3 separate regions of the Homo sapiens genome follow, and all the other regions are linked to region 2. The links are contacts of gene promoters, found by promoter capture Hi-C in blood cells and fetal thymus (Javierre and others, 2016). All regions are on one chromosome and are shown on one strand. Each heading gives the region's core, a stretch centred on a gene start or on the middle of the fragment in contact. The rest is flanking DNA. Distances are from core to core; before and after follow the strand shown.

What was found. The method cuts DNA at HindIII sites, captures the fragments that hold promoters and counts their contacts. A CHiCAGO score of 5 or more calls a contact.
Region 1: a fragment that was not itself captured here is called in contact with the fragment with the promoter of ABRAXAS2 in region 2 in 1 of 17 cell types (non-activated CD4 T cells); the score reaches 6.3 in non-activated CD4 T cells.
Region 3: a fragment that was not itself captured here is called in contact with the fragment with the promoter of ABRAXAS2 in region 2 in 1 of 17 cell types (total CD4 T cells); the score reaches 5.1 in total CD4 T cells.

What each region holds. Positions count from the first base shown.
Region 1 is chr10:122,381,513-122,384,480 of GRCh38, forward strand. All of the region lies in intron 1 of PLEKHA1 (pleckstrin homology domain containing A1), which reads left to right. Among named protein-coding and RNA genes, the nearest start is that of PLEKHA1, 8.3 kb to the left of the region's middle. The HindIII fragment of the contact is 2,178 bases long and covers 616-2,793 here.
Region 2 is chr10:124,800,502-124,803,479 of GRCh38, forward strand. ABRAXAS2 (abraxas 2, BRISC complex subunit) reads left to right here and starts at 1,318. Exons shown (of 9, transcript NM_032182.4): 1 at 1,318-1,400. The coding sequence starts at 1,329. RefSeq lists enhancers at 917-1,471, 1,144-1,413, 1,472-2,025 and a silencer at 1,514-1,593. The HindIII fragment of the contact is 5,454 bases long and covers 762-2,978 here.
Region 3 is chr10:122,412,856-122,416,075 of GRCh38, forward strand. It overlaps PLEKHA1 (pleckstrin homology domain containing A1), which reads left to right. Exons shown (of 12, transcript NM_001001974.4): 6 at 65-190; 7 at 3,004-3,147. Among named protein-coding and RNA genes, the nearest start is that of MIR3941, 2.5 kb to the right of the region's middle. The HindIII fragment of the contact is 740 bases long and covers 1,321-2,060 here.

The sequences.
Region 1 (2,968 bases), core at 455-2,954, 2.4 Mb before region 2:
TTCTTCCTCCTGCTCCTGCGATGTAAGAGGTAACTCCTCCCTCTTTGCCTTCCACCATGATTGTAAGTTTCTTGAGGCGTCCCCAGTCATGCCTCCTGTACAGACTGTGGAACTGTGAGCTAATTAAACCTCTTTTCTTTGTAAATTACCCAGCCTCAGGTAGTTCTTTATAGCAATGCAAGAACGGACTACCACAGGGTGAGAAAAACTTAAGTATGACTTCAAGATACTTTTCCTGAACAACTGGAAGAAGGGAGTGGCCCTTTACTGAGCTAGGGAAGGCTGGATCAGGATTCTGAGGGGAATATCTGGAGCTCAGTTTGTTAAGTTTGAGATAGCTTGTTAGATAAGTGGAACCGTAGAATAGGCAGTTGTATACATGGGTCTGGAGGTCAACAGTGTTCAAGGCTGGAGATAACAGTCTGGAAGTCATCAATATTTAGGCCTGTGAGAATGAGTAACCTCACCAAGACACTGAGTATATATAGGAAAGAGATCCACAGACCACCCTCTGGGATACTCCAACAATAGAGGTCTGGGAGATGAAATATTCCTTAGGGTTTCTTATGTACTCTAGAATGAAAGACAATTGTAATCGTTTCTTTTTTTAGAAAAAGCTTTATTGAGATAATTCACACTATATAAATCACTTATTTAAAATGTATGATTTAGTGCATTCACAGTTACGTGGACAACACCACAATCAATTTTAGAATATTAGTATCATCCCCAAAGAAACCCTGTACCCTCCTATCCTTAGACAACAACTCATTTCCCCTGTACCTAGGCAACTAGTAATCTACCTTCTAGCTTTATAGATTTGCCCATTCTGCATATTTCATGTCAGTGGAATCATACTATACTTGGTTTGTTTAGAGAGAAGTGGTATCCATTAGTACCTAGCTTCTAGATTCAATAGATACCAAGTTACTTGGTAAAGGTGGGGGCTATAAGATCTCTCCAATGTAAAGATACATTTCCTGTTTGCAATTAGTAACAAAACTGTGGGGTGATATTTTGAGACTATGAATATTCTGTTTCCTAACAGCATTTCATCTAGTGGTTTTAGTGTTCATTGAAGATGCTTGTGTAAATCAGTGAGACATTGGGATTACAAAGTGGTGATTTTCTATTACTGTCATATCTTCAGAAATGATGTAGTTCATATTATTTCTAATTCAGATGTATTGTACACAGTTTGTTCTTTTGTTTTTTGTTTGTACCTCTTTTCTCTCACTGTGAAAGTCTTGGTTCCTAATAACAAATAAATGTTTTCTTTTATTTTAAATATAATCATATCAACATATTTACATTATCCAATAATGTACATTATAATGGTCTGGAAGTCTTGTTATACCTAAAATGTTTCACATTACAGTACCAAGTAGGAATGCTGGATCATAGGATAAAAGCATATATGATTTTGTTAAATAGTACCAGATTCACCCAGTAGGGTTTTACCATTTTGCCTTCTTGCCAGCAATGTAAGAGTTTCTGTTTTCTTACAGCCTCATCAGTATAGTGTGTTGTCAAACTTTTGAATTTTTGCCAGTCTAATAGATGAGAAATGGTATATCTGTATAGTATAGATTTAAAAAACTTTTCTATTATGGAGATTTGTGAACATCCACAAAAATAGAATAGTGTAACCAATCCCATGAACACCATCATTTAGCCCCAGCAACTACCAACCCTGCCACCAGTGCCTCCGTTTATTCCCTTCTCTAAAAATTATTTTGAAACAAATCCCAGATAACATTTTTTTCTTTTCTTTCTTGCTTTTTTCTTTTCTTTCTTTCTGTTTTTTTTTTTTCTTTTTTTTTTTTAGAATGGGTCTTGCTCTATTGCCCAGGCTGGAGTACAGTGGCACAATCATAGCTTACTGCAGACTCAATCTCCTGGGCTGAAGCGATTATCCCACCTCAGCTTCCCAAGTAGCTGGGACTACAGGCACACACCACCATGCCTGGCTAATTTTTTTTTTTTTTTTTGGCAGAGATAATGTCTTGTCATTTTGTAGGCTTGAATTGCTGAGCTCACACAATCCTCCTGCCTCAGCCTCCCAAAGTGCTGGGATTACAATTGTGAGCCATCATGCCTGGCCCCAGATAAATAACATTTATTTTATATCAGTAAATATCTCTAAATGAAAAGGACTCCTCCTTTTTTTGGTAACAATCACAATGCCGTTATCACACCAAAAATAATGTGTCTGTTTTCTTAATATCATCAGACAATATTCAAATTTCCGATTTTAAGTATGTCAGTGTTTTTTTGTTTGTTTTTGTTTTTATTTTTAAAGAAACAGGATTTAAATAAAATCCACATGTCGTGATTGGTCCAGATATCTAAAGTCTTTTTTAATTCATAGGTTTCTCCTCTAGTTCCTTTTCTTCTCCTGCTTTTGAATTTAATTTTAAAGAAACCAGTTATCTTTCCTGAGCCATTTCTTACTGTATAGATTTTGATATTTGAATCCCTGTGGTAGTCTCTCGTGTTGTTCTGTTCTTGGGATGTCATTGGCAATGGCTACATCTCGGTATGGTTTTTTTGTATTTGTCCTGTTATGAGTGATACTGAATATCTCATCATATATTTAAAGGCCATTTTTATATCTCTCTTGGTACAATGTTCATGTCTTTTACTCATTTTTCTATTGAACGTTTGATATATTTCCCTTAACATTTTTTGCAAGCTCTTTAAATGCTAGGGAGATTAGCCCTTTGTTTATGATATAAGTTGCAAATATTTTCTACTGGCTTTGACTTTGCTTATCAGGTTTTTGCCATGGAAAGCTTTTAAAAAACTTTATTTGGCTGGGCGCGGTGGCTCACGCCTGTAATCCCAGCACTTTGGGAGGCCGAGATGGGCGGATCACGTGGTCAGGAGATTGAGACCATCCTGGCTAACACGGTGAAACCCCGTCTCTACTAAAAATACAAAAAATTAGCCGGGTGAGGTGGTGGGC
Region 2 (2,978 bases), core at 68-2,567:
AACTGAAGAATCACAAAAGAAGTGAAAATGACCGGTTCCTGCCTTAACTGATGACATTACCTTGTGAAATTCCTTCTCCTGGCTTAGAAGCTCCCCGACTGAGCACCTTGTAACCCCCGCCCCTTCCCACCAGAGAACAACCCCCTTTGACTGTAATTTTCCACTACCTACCCAAATCCTATAAATCGGCCCCACCCCTATCTCCCTTGCTGACTCTCTTTTCGGACTCAGCCCGCCTGCACCCAGTTGAAATAAACAGCCTTGTTGCTCACACAAAGCCTGTTTGGTGGTCTCTTCACACAAACGCGCATAACACTCCTGACCTCAGGTTAACACTCCCCACACACGCCCCCCCCTCCCAAAGTGCTGGGATTACAGGCATGAGCCACCGCGCCCGGCCTCAAATGTTGGCTTTTTGTTTTGTTTTGTTTTTGAGACGGAGTCTTGGTCTGTCACCCAGGCTGGAGTGCAGTGGCGCGATCTCGGCTCACTGCAAGCTCCGCCTTCCAGGTTCACGCCATTCTCCTGCCTCAGCCTCCTGAGTAGCTGGGACTACAGGAGCCCGCCACCACGTCCGGCTAATTTTTTGTATTTTTAGTAGAGACGGGGTTTCACCGTGTAAGCCAGGATGGTCTCAAACTCCTGACCTCGTGATCCGCCCACCTCGGCCTCCCAAAGTGCTGGGATTACAGGCGCGAGCCACCACGCTCAGCCTAAATGTTGGCCTTTTTTTTTTTTTTTTTTTTTTTTTTTTGAGACGAAGCTTCGCTCTTGCTGCCCAGGCTGGAGTGCAATGGCACGATCTCGACTCACCGCAACCTCCGCCTCCCGGGTTCAAGCCATTCCCCTCCCTCAGCCTCCCGAGTAGCTGAGATTACAGGCATGTGCCACCACGCCCGGCTAGTTTTTGTATTTTCAATATAGACAGGGTTTCTCCATGTTGGTCAGGCTGGTCTCGAACTCCTGACCTCAGGTGATCCGCCCGCCTCGGCCTCCCAAAGTGCTGGGATTACAGGCGTGAGCCACTGCGCCCGGCTAGAATGTTGTCTTTTAATACTAAGGTTTCACTTGCAAAGGGAAAGAACTGTTTGCGGAACTATCAACCGCTGTCTGAGGCGTGTCGGGAGCGACACCCCTGCGGAGGATACGGTGCCGGGGTCCTTCCGATCGCAAAAACCGGCGTTCCTCAGCCTTCAAGACTGTGAGCGCTCAGGGCCCTCGGCCGCTGCCCGCCGCAGACTCCACTTCCCATGATGCCAAGGGGTCGGGCCGTCCGGAAGGCCGTGTGCCCTCCGCGGGGCATGATGGGGTAGCTGGAGATTTCCATCATGGCGGCGTCCATTTCGGGCTACACCTTCAGTGCTGTGTGTTTCCACAGCGCCAACAGCAACGCGGACCACGTAGGTGCCGGGCCCCCTGCCGCGCCCGCTGGGGGCTTTCAGCCTCTGTCTCAGGCCGGCGCTCGCGGCCAAGCCGGGACCTCATGCGGCTCGCCCCCTGGGCACCAGGGCCGGCCGGAGGAGCTGGTGACCCGGGCGGCTCCCGCCCCCGGTGAGCTCTTGCCTCTGGGGGCTCCTTCGCCCCTGGGACAGGCCCCCTGGCTTCGCGCTCTCAGCCGCTCGGCCGTCCCGGCACAGCCGTCTCCCGTGCAGCAAAACTGTCCCACCTGGCCTCCTGCAGTGTCAGGAGTCGCTCGGTGGAAACCGAGCGCCTGCCCCTCCCTGAAAGTCAGGCTTCTAGACTTAAGAGGGGCGCACGGGGTCGGGAAGGAATCTAAAGGCCGGGCGTTTAGTCCAGTAGGCGAGGTACTCAGCCCCGCCCGCCGGTCTCGCAGGTTGTCGTGGGGGTGCTGCGAGTGAAACCGTGGCTGTCACTACTGATACTTGTTAGACACGGTTGTGTGTTTTCTTCGCCCTGATGCAAAATGGAGAATGTATACAGGAGCGTTCGGTGCAGGGTCTATTTTGTATTTCCTTGAAGTTGCGTGTTTAGTTCTTTGTGACTAGTTCTTTCACTAGTCACAGTGAAATAGGGAAGTGACAGGCCCACTACTGAGTGATGGGAAATGCATAGGCTGTGAGCCCACAGGAGGAGCAGATCCTGTCTGTTTCAGTGTCTTTATTTTACAAATTGTCTTTTAACGTCATTGGCCTCTGATTGGAAATGCTTTGTGAAACTAGATCACTTCTCTCTTAAAGGAGGTATATAATTTGGCCACCAAATTGGGGGATTATTTTAAGTGATGTTAATAGTGAATGATTCAAACTCATTAAACCTATGTGTGGGGTTTTTGGTTGTCATTACAAAGCAAAATGGTACACTGCAGAAGGAGGAACTGCATTTGGTTTGATGTCAGCAATCTTAGCTTCCATTAATAAAAACTGATTTCACAGGGAGGTGATTCCATTAGTAAATTGAATGCAATTAAATTATTGTACCTTTCATCTCTTCAGTGTTGATGGTAGAACTTAATGATAGGAATAGGAATATATACATCATGGGTTTTTCCAGAAGCAGCTTTGAAGACTATGGCCTAGGGTACTACAACCAGCTATTTAATAATGTAATATAGTTCCATATGTAAGGGTTTGTGATACCCCTAGTGTCCATGGACTATTAAAAATGGGTCCTTTATTTCTTGAATGCCTACTAATATCACAGTTTATGTATATGGCAAGATTACTGTAAGAACAAGCAGCTACCTGTTGAAAAAAATTAATTCAAGAGATATCCCTTAATATCTACTCTGCAAGGCGTGGTGCTTGACTTCATAGAAATTTTCACCAATGCCAATAGTTTGCAACTGTGTTTTATATGACCATGCCTGTTTATATTAACTTTGCCACAATTATAGATGTGGAATCCTTGAAAATAATTTCAATTTTAAGGTTGAAGAACCAACAATTTACTTTTGTAGTACATACTTATTTTGTCCAGTCAAGAAATTAATTTAAAACCACTCATTTGTAGACCTGGGG
Region 3 (3,220 bases), core at 441-2,940, 2.4 Mb before region 2:
CGAGAAAACAGGTTCACATGTATAATGCTGGTTGCAAAATGATTCATTTTATTTACTATTTCAGGTACCAAAGCAGTCAGACTCACAGCCTAATTCTGATAACCTAAGTCGCCATGGTGAATGTGGGAAAAAGCAAGTGTCTTACAGAACTGATATTGTTGGTGGCGTACCCATCATTACTCCCACTCAGGTAATTAAGTAACTCTTCTATTGTGTGAGGGTCTAATTATTGTATATTGATTTTTATATTATTAAAACTAAAACAGTGCATCTTTGCTTAATTGGTATAATATACAATTACTATAAAATATTTTTGTTTATTTCAAAAGTATTTATTATAAAAAATTTGGAAATTACATAACATTTAAAACTTCTCATGATTTCTCTGAGCCTTTCTTCATGTACTTTTCACCTCAGAAATGGAGATATGAGTTGTATATTACATTTTGTAAACAGATTTTTTCACTTGTATCATGAACATTTTCCAAGTCATCAGAAATCCTTTTATATCATTTTTAATGAGTGCATAGTAGTTCTTCCATGGATTTACCATAAATTACAAATCCTCTATTGGACAAATAGAGTTCCTTTTCCTTTTTGTTTCTTTTACTTTATAAACAATGCTATGATGAATATTCTTAAAGGAGAAATTCCTAGAAATAAAATTGCTGAGTCAAGAGTTTGCAAGTAGTAATTTTTAAAATCTATTTTTTCTACAACCTGGCCTAAGTGAGCTAAACAGAAGACTGGAATTTTAACTAAGTTATATCTCAGAAGTACTAATATGCTAAATTAAGTCTTTATTTGAGTTTTAGGAAAAATATAAATTTACATACAATTTTTGATGAAATTAAAACTCTTGTCTGAGCTTGAATTTCTTGTTTTGCTATTGAAAAGGATGAATTTGTAATGGATATTAAGTTACTAGTAGTTGAGAAACCAAGAATTTTAAAGTAATCAATTGGTATTGCCAAGCTTGGGTATTTTCATTACCAGTGTGCCTTTTGAACTCAAAAGACTTTGACACTTTATAAATCTTTTAAATCAAATTGTATCATTCCCCACATTTTTCAGGTCTTTTGCTACGGGAGGGTGATTAGTGGGATTAGAAATCTTACAACATTAATTAATTAATTAACTATTGAGTGCTTTCTTTATGCTTGGCAAAGGGTATGTTAATGAACAGAAATTCCCTGCTGTCATAGAGCATACATTTTCCACCAAAGTTGGATAAAAAAATAAGCTAGGATTGTGTGTTTACTTTTTCCAAAAGTAATGATTTTAAACTGTTAACCTTCTGGTTACTATGTACCTAGATTAAGCTTCTTTCACTGGTATTATGACCTATGTTGACATAAGGGGTAAGACTATTTTCCTGTAGTTGTGTTAAGACACTGTATTAGTTTGTATCTGTGGCTGTTTTAATTTTGTCTAGAGTTAAGATTTTGTTGCATTGTAATTTTGGTATAGATATTTCAGTAGTTTCTAGGATTTTATGGAGGGTATAATTTTATTGCATCATTTATTTTGTAGTATAGTTTTAAAAATTATAAAATAATATATGTCTATCATAAAAGGCAAAAATTGGTAAATTGGACCTCATCAAAATAAAAAATACTTGCTCTATGAAAGACCTTCTTAAGAGGATGAAAAGAAAAGCTACAAACTGGGAGAAAATATTTGCAAACCACATGTCCAACAAAGGACTTTTATCTAGAACATAGAAAGAACTCAGAACCCAACAGTAAAAAGCCCAAGAAATCCAATTAGAAAATTCATGAACAGATATTTCATCAAAAGATAAAAGATAAACAGATGGTAAGTAAGCACATGAAAAGATGTTCACCATCATTAGCTAGCAGGGAAAAAATACAAATTAAGAGCACAATAAAAGATCACTGCACACCTCTCAGAATGGCTGAAATAAAAGTGACGACACAAATGCTGCCAAGGTTGAGGAGAAACATAATCTCTCAGGTGTTGCTGGTGGGAATGAAAATTAGCCACTCTGAAAAACAGTTTAGTGTTTATGTTTTGTTTTTTTTTTAATAATAAAAGTAAGCTTGTGATTACTGTACAACCCAGCATTTGCAGGACTAGGTGTTTATCGTAGAGAAAGGGAAAATTACATTCACATAAAAACTTGTGCATGAATGTTGATAGCAGCTTTTTTCCTAATAGCTAAAAGTGGGAAACAACTCAAATGTCCTTTAATGGGTGAACAGTTAAACAACTGGTCATCCATCCATACCATGGAAATATAGCAATAAAAAGGAATGAACTCTAGATACAAGGAACAGTCTGGACGAATCTCTAGAGAATTATGCTGAGTGAAAAAAGATAATCTCAAAAGATAACCTTCTGTATGCTTCCATTTACATTACATTTTCAAAATGTCAAAATTATAGTCTTGGAGAACAGATTAGTGGCTGCCAGGGGATTTAGGGGTAGGAACTCTAAAGTTCACAAAGGAGCCTTGGGGTGATGACCAATTCTGGGTCTTAAATGTGGTAGTAGTTACACAGATCTACACATGTGATAAAACTGCATAGAACTGTATAGACACACATAGATGAATGTATGTAAAACTGGTGGAATCCGAATAAAGTTTGTGGGTTGTGCCAATGTCCATTTCTTGTTTTTTGATAATGTTACGCCGTTTCCCTTTGAGGGGAAACTAGTGAAAGGGTACATAGGACCTGTTGTACTTTTTTTGGGCAGCTTCTGGTGAATCCTTATAATTATTTCAAAATAAAAAGTTAACTCCTTCCCCAAAAAAGAGCACTGGTGGCAGGACTTGTGCAAAACAAGAGGAATGGAAATTTGTGCTTTAATCAGTGACAGGAAAATTAAGAGTAAGTATCTCAGATTAATTAGAAAACTCTTCAAAAATCTGTTTCTGACTAATCTAAGGTGGATTTTAAGATTTTCTACTGGGATAATATGAAATAAAAGTATGCTAAACAAGCAAGAAAATAATTTATTTATTTTGCTTCATTTTAGAAAGAAGAAGTAAATGAATGTGGTGAAAGTATTGACAGAAATAATCTGAAACGGTCACAAAGCCATCTTCCTTACTTTACTCCTAAACCACCTCAAGATAGTGCGGTTATCAAAGCTGGATATTGTGTAAAACAAGGAGCAGTGGTGAGTAGCTTAACAAAATACATGAAATAATGAAAAAGGATTACGTTCTAGCAAACTCAAATTAACATGGAAA